Regions from separate parts of the Homo sapiens genome. Here regions 1, 3 and 4 are each linked to region 2. The links are contacts of gene promoters, found by promoter capture Hi-C in blood cells and fetal thymus (Javierre and others, 2016). All regions are on one chromosome and are shown on one strand. Each heading gives the region's core, a stretch centred on a gene start or on the middle of the fragment in contact. The rest is flanking DNA. Distances are from core to core; before and after follow the strand shown. Region 1 overlaps FGFR1 (fibroblast growth factor receptor 1). Region 2 holds the start of PLPBP (pyridoxal phosphate binding protein). Region 3 overlaps KCNU1 (potassium calcium-activated channel subfamily U member 1). Region 4 overlaps NSD3 (nuclear receptor binding SET domain protein 3).

Region 1 (2,700 bases), core at 1-2,500, 650 kb after region 2:
GTCTTTTTATAGTAGTCGATGTGGTGAATGTCCCGTGCGAGGCCAAAGTCTGCTATCTTCATCACATTGTCCTCTGTCACCAGGACATTCCTGGCTGCCAGGTCTCGGTGTATGCACTGAGGAAGGAGGAAGGGAGAGCGGGAGGCGGGGAGGTGAGGGAGCTGGAAGGCTCTGGGCGGCCGCCACCCATGCAACTAGCCGACTTGTCTCATAGAACTTCTGCCACACTGCTCTGCCCCCCGAACCTTTGCTTTCCCTCTTCTAACATTCTCTGCCAGCTCCAGGCTTCTCATCACAGCAAGCGCTCCTCCCTTCCTTCCCCAAAGACTGGCCCCTTATGCCTCTGCTGCGTCTGCAGCGATGCATGCTCCTAGGTCCTGCCTCCCAGCACAGCAAGTCCACATGGGGCTGGGCTCAAACCAGGCCAGCCCTTACACACCAAACACTGCACTCAACACTCACAGACAGTTTCATTTTATCTTCATAACAATTCTACAACAGGTATTGTTATACTTTATTTTCTTTTGAGACAGGGCCTTGCTCTGTCGCCCCGGCTGGGGTGCAGTGGTGTGATCATGGCTCAGTGCAGCCTCAAACTCTTGGGCTCAAGCTAGCCTCCCACCTCAGCCTCCCGAGTAGCTGGGACTATCGGCACGCACTACCACACCCAGCTAATTTTTTAATTTTTTTTTTTTTTTTAAAGACGGGGTTTCAATATATTGCCCAACCTGGTCTCACACTCCTGAGCTCAAGCAATCCTCCCGCCTTGGCCACTGCACCCAGCTGATATTATTATTATTTTGTATTTGAAGAATTTTAAGATGCTAAGTAGCTGCCTGAGGCTACGCAGAAAGTGGCAGTGCACAGATCGGACCCTGCATCAGTCTGACCCCAAGGCCACCTGGCTACACTGGTGCTCCTGACTCTGCAGTTCCCAGAGAGCCTAAGACAACACACAGGGCACACAGGGCCAGTGCTCAGTGCATCCACAACGCCACCACAAGATGATAAGTCACAGGCTGGAAGACTAGGGGGGCTCTGTTCCCACCCTGGCATTACCCAGGGGAGCCTTCAGGTTCCACACCTTCTTGGAGGCCAGATACTCCATGCCTCGGGCCACCTGGTAGGCGCAGGACACCAGGTCCTTGGAGGAGAGCTGCTCCTCTGGGTTGTGGCTGGGGTTGTAGCAGTATTCCAGCCCTGGGGGCCTCCGGGCCTGCAGGTACTCCCGCAGGTTGCCCTTGGAGGCATACTCCACGATGACATACAAGGGACCTGCAGGCACAGGAGAAGAGGCCATGGGGCCAGCAGCAGGTGAGCAGGTTTGGCTTCACCTCAAAGAAACCCCACCCCCAGCAGCACACCCCGGCCAACCTCCCATCTCCTGCCTCCTCTTAGGGGACCTGGGAAATCCATTCTACTACCCAAAAAAAATCAGAGAAATAATTACTCCCAGCATAGTCCAGAAAATTCCCGAGCAACATTGGGGTAAGAGCCCCAGTTTGTCTGTTTATTTTGAGATGGAGTCTCACTCTGTTGCCCAGGCTGGAGTGCAGTGGCGCAATTTCGGCTCACTGCAACCTCTGCCTTCTGGATTCAAGTGATTCTCCTGCCTCAGCCTCCCAAGCAGCTGGGATTACAGGCATGAACAATGCCTGGCTAATTTTTTTTTTTTTTTTTTTTTTTTTTGAGATGGAGTTTTGCTCGTTGCCCAAGCTGGAGTGCAATGGCGCGATCTCGGCTAACCGCAACCTCCGCCTCCCGTGTTCAAACGATTCTCCTGCCACAGCCTCCCGAGTAGCTGGAATTACAGGCATGCGCCACCACGCCCGGCTACTTTTTGTATTTTTAGTAGAGATGGGGTTTCACCTGTTGGCCAGGCTGGTCTCCAACTCCTGACCTCAAGTGATCCACCCGCCTCACCCTCCCAAGGTGCTGGGATTACAGGCGTGAGCCACTGTGCCTGGCCTATTTATTTATTTTATTTTTGAGACAGCGGGAGTATCTCCCAAGCTGGAGTACAATGGCGTGATCTTGGCTCACTGCAACCTCCACCTCCCGGGTTCAAGCAAGTCTTATGCGTCAGCCTCCTGAGTAGCTGGGATTATAGGCATGCGTGACCATGCCTGGCTAACTTTTGTATTTTTTAGTAGAGATGGGGTTTCACCATTTTGACCAGACTGGTCTCGAACTCCTGATCTCAAGTGATCTTCCTGCCTCGGCCTCCCAAATTGCTGGGATTACAGGCATGAGCCACTGCACCCAGCCTGAGCGCTCTTAGACCATAATTACTCAGCTGCCTCTGTTAACACACCACGTGTGTGAATCTAGGTATCTGTATTCCTGAATGAACACCAATGAGCGGAGCCCAGATCCCGAGATAACACATTTTAAACCTCTGCCAAAGCAGCCTCTCTTAACCCCCTTCCCTAGCTGTGGCTGAGAGAGGCCTTGGGACTGATACCCCAGCTCAGATCTTCTCCCCGCTGGGCAGGGAAAGCCAGTCTGGCCGGCACCCACCATCCTGCGTGCAGGCCCCCAGCAGGTTGATGATATTCTTATGCTTCCCGATCATCTTCATCATCTCCATTTCTGAGATCAGGTCTGACAAGTCTTTCTCTGTTGCGTCCGCTTTAAAGAACACGTTGAGACTCATTTACTTGGGAAGGGAGGAGGGCAGGATAAAGGCTAAGGGAGTGG
Region 2 (2,700 bases), core at 33-2,532:
ACTATGTAGCATTCTGTATTATTATTTGTATGGCCTGGCTCCTCATCAAGTTTATAACCATATTGCCCACAGAAGGGGACTCAAGAATCAAACTCAGGGCGTTGTGGTGCCCGTTTGTAGTCCCAGCTATTCTGTGAGGCGGAGGTGGGAGGATTGCTTGGGCCCACGAGTCCCAGATAATCTGGGCAACATAGCGAGACCCCATCTCAAAAAAAGAATCTAACTGAATGTGCTGAGCTCCTGCTAGACCATCTAAAGCTGCCTGTGGGCTGGGCGCGGTGGCTCGCACCTGTAGTCCCAGCTACTGGGGAGGCTGAGGCAGGAGAATCGCTTGAACCCGGGAGGTGGAGGTTGCAGTGAGCCCAGATCGGGCCACCGCACTCCAGCCTGGGTGACAGAGCGAGACTGTCTCAATAATAATAATAGTAATAATCATGCTGCCTGTGTCCCCTGATGAGACAGCACTGGCCGCAGGTGGCCGCTAACCTCTCGAAATAGGGATGGCCCGAATTGAGACATATGCAAGTCAACACTACACCGGGTTTCAGAAACACATACGATTTTCAAAAGAATTAAAATATCGCATTTAGTTTTTCTATTGATTGCATGTTGAAATCTTACTTTGGATATATTGGATTAAATAAAGTATATCATTAAAATTTTTAAGCTTATGTGCCTATGAGAAACTTCCAAATTACACAGTTGGATGGCGTTATATTTCTCTTGGACAGCAGTGGTCTGAAAGATGACAAAAATCACGATACGTTTGAATCACGCCATGTCTTTAGGGAAAAGAAGAAAGAAGAGTTTCCTTTCGTATCGCTTAGGGGTTCCTCGCAAGAACCATCTGACAGAGAAAAGCCCTGGCTCCCGCCCCAGTGGCTTCTAATTCTGGTCCCCGCGCCCAGAAAGCCGGGAACGGGCAAGCCTGGAAAGGCGTTTTGAAAGGAAACAGGATCCCCCGAGTATAGGATGCGTTTCTGCCTCACAAAAGTCCCTTGGGGGTGGGGGGACGGCAGCGGCTGAGGCGCAGGAAAGAGGAGAGCACACGGGGAGTGGCCCTTGGAACCAGGCGCGCAAAACCTCAGCCCCTAGGCTCCATTTCCAGGTTCGCGGGTGACCTCCCCAAGATGGCCGCCGCCTGGGGGCGGGCCTCCACGCTGCACGGGTGTTGATTGGGTGAGACGACTCAATGATGAGCAATGATTGGTTCACACGGCGCAAGCTGGGCGGAACCGGAAGATGGTGTGAGCCACGGGCTGCCGGGGGCCTGGGGCTCGGCGTCGGTCCCCGGGGGATGTGGAGAGCTGGCAGCATGTCGGCCGAGCTGGGAGTCGGGTGCGCATTGCGGGCGGTGAACGAGCGCGTGCAGCAGGCTGTGGCGCGGCGGCCGCGGGTGAGGAAGGAGGCTGCGTGGGGACGGTGGGCGGCCGCCTTGAGAAGAGGGACACCTGCGTGGGAATGGGTCGTCACGGTGACGCAGAGGGGTCTCCCAGAGAGGCGGGACTGGTCGGCCGCCTAGGGCCACCGAAAGGCTAGCGAAGGGTTTCCCCAGCCTCCTTACCTTGAGTCTGTTAGGTTTTCTGGAGATTGGCTTCGTTGGAGCAGAGGGTACCGCTACCTCGGGAAAATGACTTAGTGCCTAGGTGTCGTGGCCACTTGCGCACCGCGTCGTTTCGGGGTCGATAGCCTTGGCGGATGCGAGGGGGGCCAGGCCTGTGCCCACGGATGGTAAGGGGAGACGGGGGTACAAGAGCACCCCGCGGAGGCCAGAGACGCCCGAGATCGCGTGTGTGGCAGCGTCTCACCTGCTAAGTGCCCAAGAAATGCCAGTGCCGCCCGGAGGCCGAGGTGAGGGTGGACTGGCCGGACTTCGCTGGCATCAGAGCGGCACTTGTTTATGGGGCAGGAGGGAGAAGTCCAATCCCAAGCCGGTTAAGGGGAGCTTTCGTCTTTTGTGTATATATATATTACATCCTCTTGGACTTTGATTAGACCAAGAATCAAAATCTGCCCACCTCAGTGCAAGTTTAAGCTGAATGGTGTGGAATGAGACGGACCTTAACAGAGAGGTCACAGGTTTCTCTGATCGAGCATTTATGCTGGCTGAAGACAAGACCTGTATTATAGTCTTTCTTTGACTATTCCTTAGACGTTACCTTGAACAAGTCAGGTAACTATTCCGGCCCTCAGCTCTGAAAGCTCTGAGATCTCTTCTGATGTTAATATTCTGTGATTCTCGGTGATTCTCCAAGAAAAATCTAGGGCTTCCCCTAATAAACATCACCTTGGAGGTTCTCTCAGGGAAACTCTCAGGCAGATGGGCTGCCTGTTCGGGTAACTCTCTGGAAAGCGTCAATCATCAGCATACTCCCAGTAGTCACGACTTGGACTCAAACGAGGCTGGTTACGCATCGCTGTGGAAGGAAGGAAGAGGAGACATTTTTCTAATTGATCTGACTCCGTCACGTCCTTGAGAACACTGTGATTCTGTGAAAACTTCAGGGGATGATGGATACAAGAAGACTAAATCGTGCAAGGATAAACGAATCTCTTCTCTTACTGTTTCTATGTGGATTGGGTGGCAGCAGAACGCATAGAACCCCCGCTCTTTGTATAGTGGTCGTGAGAGGATGTCACATAGGTCTGATCCTGAATCCAGAATTTTTTGTGTCGCAGCCTTAGTTCTGCCACTGGTTC
Region 3 (2,700 bases), core at 66-2,565, 910 kb before region 2:
TGAACCTGGGAGACAGAGGCTGCAGTGAGCCAAGATCATGCTACTGCATTCCAAGCTGGTTGACAGAGCAAGACTTCTCTCAAAAAATAAATAAATAAATAAGTAGGCATTTATATCTAAAAATTTCCCTCTAAGCACCTTTAGAAGCATGGTGTATTTTTAATGTGTTATGTTTTTATTTTCATTAATTTAAAATACTTTATAATTTCCCTGTGTTTTCTGTTTTCTTTTTTGTATGTTTTTGACCCATTGTTAAGAAATGTGTTGTTTTTACTTTCACATATTTGTGAATTTTCCTAATTTTCTCTTTTATTGTATTCTTATTTAATTCCATTGAAGTTGGAAAGCATACTTTGTATGACAAATTCTTATAGTATTTTAAGACTTGCTCCATTGTCTAATACATGGTCTATCCTGGAGACTATTCAATGTATACTTGGGAAGATCATGTATTATTCTGTTGTTAGATGGAATGTTATATGGATGTCTGTTAAGTATAGTTGGTTTATAGGGTCGGTTAAGTATAGGTTGGTGTGTGTGTGTGTGATTTTTATTTCTTCCTGTGGATTTGAATTACTGCCTAATGTGCTTGTATTTCAAACTCAAGGAATCCCGTTAGTATTTATTGTAGGGTTTGTCATATGTGAACAAGATCTAAGTTCTTGTTAATCTTAAAAATGTCTTAATTTATCATTTATTTTTGGAGGATAGTTTTGCTAACTATTAAATTCTTTGTTGGCAGTTGTTTCTCATTCAGCGCTTTAAATATTTCATCCTACTTCTTTCTGGCCTCTATTGTTTCAGATTAGAAATAGCTTTCAATTTGATTGGTCATCCTTTCTACACGATGAGTCACTTCTGTCTTGCTGACTTGAAGACCCTCTGTCTTTGAGTCTTACATTTTTGATTATGACAGGTCTCCATGTGTCAATCTCTTTAAATTTATCCTACTAGGAGTTTATTAAGCTTTTTAGTTGTGTAGATTAATGTTTTTCAACCACTTTGAGAAGTTATTGGCCATTATTTCTCAAATATTCACTCTACTCCTTTCTTTACTCTTCTCCTGGATCTTTCATTAAATCCTTTGGTACACTTGATAATGTCCCAGCGGTCCCTTAGGCTGTCTTCATTTTTCTTAATTCCTTTTTTCTTCTGTCCCTCAAACTGTATAATCTTCATTCACCTATCTTTGAGTATGCTGATTCTTTTTTTTTTTTTTGCATGCTCAAGTCTGATCTTTAGTTCCTCTTGTAAAGTTTTTATTTTAGTTCTTGTACTTTGAACTCCAAGATTTCTACTTAAAAAAATTTGTAACTATTTAATGACATTCTCTATTTTGTGAGACATCATTCTCATATTCCTTTTGGTTATTTATATATAGGTTTTTAAAGCTCTTCAAATATATTTAAATTAGCTGATTTTAAAAGTCTTTGACTAGTAAGTACAATATCTGAGCTTCTCTCAAGGATGGTGTCTATTGAGAGCCTTTTTCCTATGTATTTTTATCTTGCTTGTTTCTTTCCAAGTCTTATAACTTTTTGTTGAAAATTAGACATTACACAGGTTATAGTGTGTTATTTATGGAAATCAGATTCTCCAGTAGACTTTCCCAAAGTCTATCTCTCTGTCATTTGTGGCCATTGAATTTTCTACTCAACTTAGTGGTAAGCTTATAATTGGACAATGATTTTTGTTAAACACCTGGAACCAAGAAGTTTCTCAGTCTTTGTCAAAGGATTCTGTGTTTGTGTTGGGGCATGCCTTCAATAGTCAGCTGTAAAGTTGACAACTGTGTTTAGCCTTCATTTTCTGCTTGTATGAAACCTCAAGGTCAGTTAGAGATGAGAGCTTTGGAACTTCTCAGGCCTTTCTGCTTATGCATACAGCTTTACACAGTTCTGGGCATCTTCATTGTCATTTAGATTTCCAGTAATATTCCAGAGTTTTTCAAAGTCCCTTATAAGTAAGAAGACATTTTATTCTTCAGTTTTCCTTTTATGCTTTCATTTGGTCTTCAATTTGCCCTGCTATCTGTTGCCTCAGGCACATGTGACGTTAATATATTTGATAACACTCCCTGGGGATAGGCTTGTAGCACTAGATACATGCAAATGAGGCTGAAAAAGAAAAGCCATTCAAGTAGGGTTATGCAGGGAACCACCAGACAAGTCAAAATAATGACTCTTCTTTGGAAATAAGGCTTTTGAAGAACTGTATTTCTGCTGTACTCCCTCTAGTGCCAAGAATATGGAGTATTATGTTTTGAAAGCTATCGATGAGCTGTGGAGCTGGAGATGAAACTAGTGTAAATTAAAATAACACAAATCTTATATCTCTTACTGCTATCTATTTATTTCTCTCGACTAAATGTTTTCAAGGCTCCTGTTGGTTAGTTTCCAGAGTTCTGAAAAAAAAATAATTCTCACAAGTTTTGCCAGTTTATTCTATTTTTATGGAGGGGCGGCCTATCTCGTGTCCTTCCTCTACCTTTTATTTTATTTTTTTTCTGGTATCTTGTCTTCATTTTTTAAAGATAGTTTTCCTGGGTATAAAATTCTTGGTTGGCAGTTTATTTCAGCACTTTTCAATGACATCTTATTGCCTTCTAACCTCCATTTTTTCTGATAAGAAGTCAGCTGTTTCACATGTAAACCACATTTTTCTCGTGCTGGTTTCAAGATTTTTTGTGATGTAGGGCAC
Region 4 (2,700 bases), core at 65-2,564, 610 kb after region 2:
AGATTGTGCCACTGCACTCCAGCCTGGGTGACAGAGTGAGACTCTGTCTCAAAAAAATAAATAAATAAAAAACTAACTTTAAATCTCATCTATCACCTTAACATTATTTAAGATGACCATTATTTGTAATATCAAACAATTATATGAAATTCACAACCAATACAGTTAGTGACATAGATAGGATTTTAGGGAGTAAAATCAGCATGGCCACGATTCTCTTTACAAAATCCTAGTAAGGAATCAAGGTGTGTTAGAGAAGTTGTATGTTTTCTCTTAACTTTTTTTAAACTTTTCTGAGTTTAAACTATTAATAAAGCAAAATATCTTTTTTTTTTGAGACAGAGATTTGCTCTTGTTGCCCAGGTTGGAGTGCCCTGGCACAATCTCGGCTCACTGCAACCTCTGCCTCCAGGGTTCAAGTGATTCTCCTGCCTCAGCTTCCCAAGTAGCTGGGATTACAGGCATGCACCATCACACCCAGCTAAAGGGGGTTACACCATGTTAGTCAGGCCGGTCTCGAACTCCTGACCTCAGGTGATCCACTCGCCTTGGCCTCCCAAAGTGTTGGGATTACAGGTGTGAGCCACTGCACCAGGCAGCAAATTATCTGTAAAGAATAACTGTGCTACTCCATAATCTGTTTAACTTTAGCGTTGTCACCTCAAATATTTTCTGAAATGTGTTCACTTTAAATTTTCCACTAAAAATTTAGAGAAAGATGTTTAGAGAAGGATGATGATTAAAGACATTAAAATATCCTGAATTAGGAAGTAACCTGCGTGAAGTAGAACTTAGTTAACAAAATACAAAAAAGAAAACAACAACAACAAAAAAGTGTTTCATTTAACCATAAATCCTGTCACTAAATTCAATCATACAGTTTTCACTTGACTATGATTCCATTAAGTTATACAACATTTTAGGTGGCTTTGTAGTTCATATTTTTTTCCTGACTAAACCACATTACTATTGAACTGCCTTTTACCAATACAAAGCTTACTAGTAAAACACCCTGTTTCCCTTATCTATCTAGTTTAACCTCAACTGTCTTCGCTTTGTTGCTGACCACACCCAGCAACAACAGACATGGTATTACCACTTGAAGGAAATTACATTATTTTCCAATCCTTTACAGCAAGGGTAGTTGCTCACAATGAAAATTACTACAAACAACTTTCATCAGTCATCTTGTTCCATTCACTATGAAATCTAGTAAACTAACAAGTTCATCCACATATTTTCTTACCTATTTCCTGGACAAACTTTTAAATTATGGTAAAATGGTTTGAGATTGGTTCTTAAAATTTTGCAAGCATTCAAATTTACTTTCTTTTAGCTTGTATCCTCCATTCCCCCAAAAAAGGCAAAAGAGAATGTATGCCAAAGATGATATGTAGTTTTTAAGGCACTAAGCAATTTATTATATCTAAATAATAATTTACTAAGTTTATCTTTTCTATAAAGACCAGTTTGGGTTTTGTTTTTTTTGTTTATCGCTTTAGTATTTTAGGTTCAACATGTAGTATTTTAGTATTCAACATGTAGTTTTCAAAATAAGTAATAAAAGTTAGAAAATTCAGAATTTCATACTATATATCCAAATTTCACATCACCTGTTTGTTTAATCAGAACACCAAGCTTTAGTGAAGCTTTAGCCATCATGAGTTGTAATAAAACAGTGGAAGTAAAATTGGACTGGAAAGTTAACTTCATGTTCAAACTTGAACCAGCATGAATTCTCTCAACAATTAAGAAAAACTCATATAACCTAGGCAAAGATTCTCTTCAGGTATTAGTTGATGTTCAACTTTTAACTTCTATGAAAGTGAGTTTAGCCAATTGAGTTCAGTTCTTCTTCCATTAAACATGTGACTAAAGACTAGTTCATTTTGTGTACACTATTTTTCTTCTATTAAAAAAGTTATTCATTATCAACTATGTGTCTGGTACAGTTCTACGCACACTCTAGTACTTCTAATTTGAATCCCTGTAACTCCAAGAATAATTTTCATTTGCACTTTTAGAGATAAGAACACTGATCTTCAGTGGTAAAGTGAAGTGGGGATAGGAACTCAGATCTCCTTGACTCTTGCCCTATACTTCACTGCCCTCCCAGTTTTGTTTTTTGTTTTTGTTTTTGTTTTTGTTTTTGAGACAGAGTCTCGCTCTGTTGCCCAGGCTGGAGTGCAGTGGCACGATCTCAGCTCACTGCAACCTCTGCCTTCTGGGTTCAAGCGACTCTCCTGCCTCAGCCTCCTGAGTAGCTGGGACTACACGCGTGCACCACAACACTGGCTAATTTTTGTATTTTTAGTAGACATGGGGTTTCACCATGTTGACCAGGCTGGTCTCAAACTCCTGACCTCAAGTGATCCACCCACCTCGGCCTCCCAAAGTGCTGGGATTACAGGTGTGAGCCACCACGCCCAGCCAGCCCACCCAGTTTTTAAAAAATGTTTTGTTAAACGGCTTAAGCGAACATAACAAAAGAACAACTTTCGGGGGGAAGGTCAATTAGAACAAAGCAAACCTCTCTTAAAAGAAAACCATATTTTCTATAAGGTGATAAGTTTGCTACAGTTAACTGTATAGGTAAAACATACTTTCCACAGATGTTTTCTAAAATAAAGTGTTTCTAAATCAAATTTGAATTTTTTAAAAAAATTTTAAACCATACACAATACTCTCTCAATAAAGACA

The links. Contacts are between HindIII fragments. The CHiCAGO score rates a contact against its expected background, and 5 or more counts as called.
Region 1: a contact is called between a fragment that was not itself captured here and the fragment with the promoter of PLPBP in region 2, in 4 of 17 cell types (naive CD4 T cells, activated CD4 T cells, neutrophils and 1 more). The highest score is 7.8, in naive CD4 T cells.
Region 3: a fragment that was not itself captured here is called in contact with the fragment with the promoter of PLPBP in region 2 in 2 of 17 cell types (endothelial precursors and M1 macrophages); the score reaches 5.9 in endothelial precursors.
Region 4: a fragment that was not itself captured here is called in contact with the fragment with the promoter of PLPBP in region 2 in 1 of 17 cell types (total CD8 T cells); the score reaches 5.8 in total CD8 T cells.

What each region holds. Positions count from the first base shown.
Region 1 is chr8:38,414,786-38,417,485 of GRCh38, forward strand. It overlaps FGFR1 (fibroblast growth factor receptor 1), which reads right to left. Exons shown (of 18, transcript NM_023110.3): 12 at 2,521-2,631; 13 at 1,085-1,275; 14 at 1-116. Among named protein-coding and RNA genes, the nearest start is that of LETM2, 30 kb to the left of the region's middle. RefSeq lists enhancers at 593-1,363, 1,804-2,469. The HindIII fragment of the contact is 8,773 bases long and covers 1-2,700 here.
Region 2 is chr8:37,761,363-37,764,062 of GRCh38, forward strand. PLPBP (pyridoxal phosphate binding protein) reads left to right here and starts at 1,283. Exons shown (of 8, transcript NM_007198.4): 1 at 1,283-1,396. The coding sequence starts at 1,298. LOC124901934 (a long non-coding RNA gene) reads right to left here and starts at 1,902. Exons shown (of 2, transcript XR_007060889.1): 1 at 1,565-1,902; 2 at 1-1,451. RefSeq lists enhancers at 832-911, 1,012-1,471, 1,049-1,343, 1,652-1,711 and a silencer at 971-1,291. The HindIII fragment of the contact is 3,991 bases long and covers 666-2,700 here.
Region 3 is chr8:36,853,268-36,855,967 of GRCh38, forward strand. The region is part of intron 18 of KCNU1 (potassium calcium-activated channel subfamily U member 1); the gene reads left to right. Among named protein-coding and RNA genes, the nearest start is that of KCNU1, 70 kb to the left of the region's middle. The HindIII fragment of the contact is 703 bases long and covers 965-1,667 here.
Region 4 is chr8:38,367,662-38,370,361 of GRCh38, forward strand. The region is part of intron 1 of NSD3 (nuclear receptor binding SET domain protein 3); the gene reads right to left. Among named protein-coding and RNA genes, the nearest start is that of NSD3, 13 kb to the right of the region's middle. The HindIII fragment of the contact is 643 bases long and covers 994-1,636 here.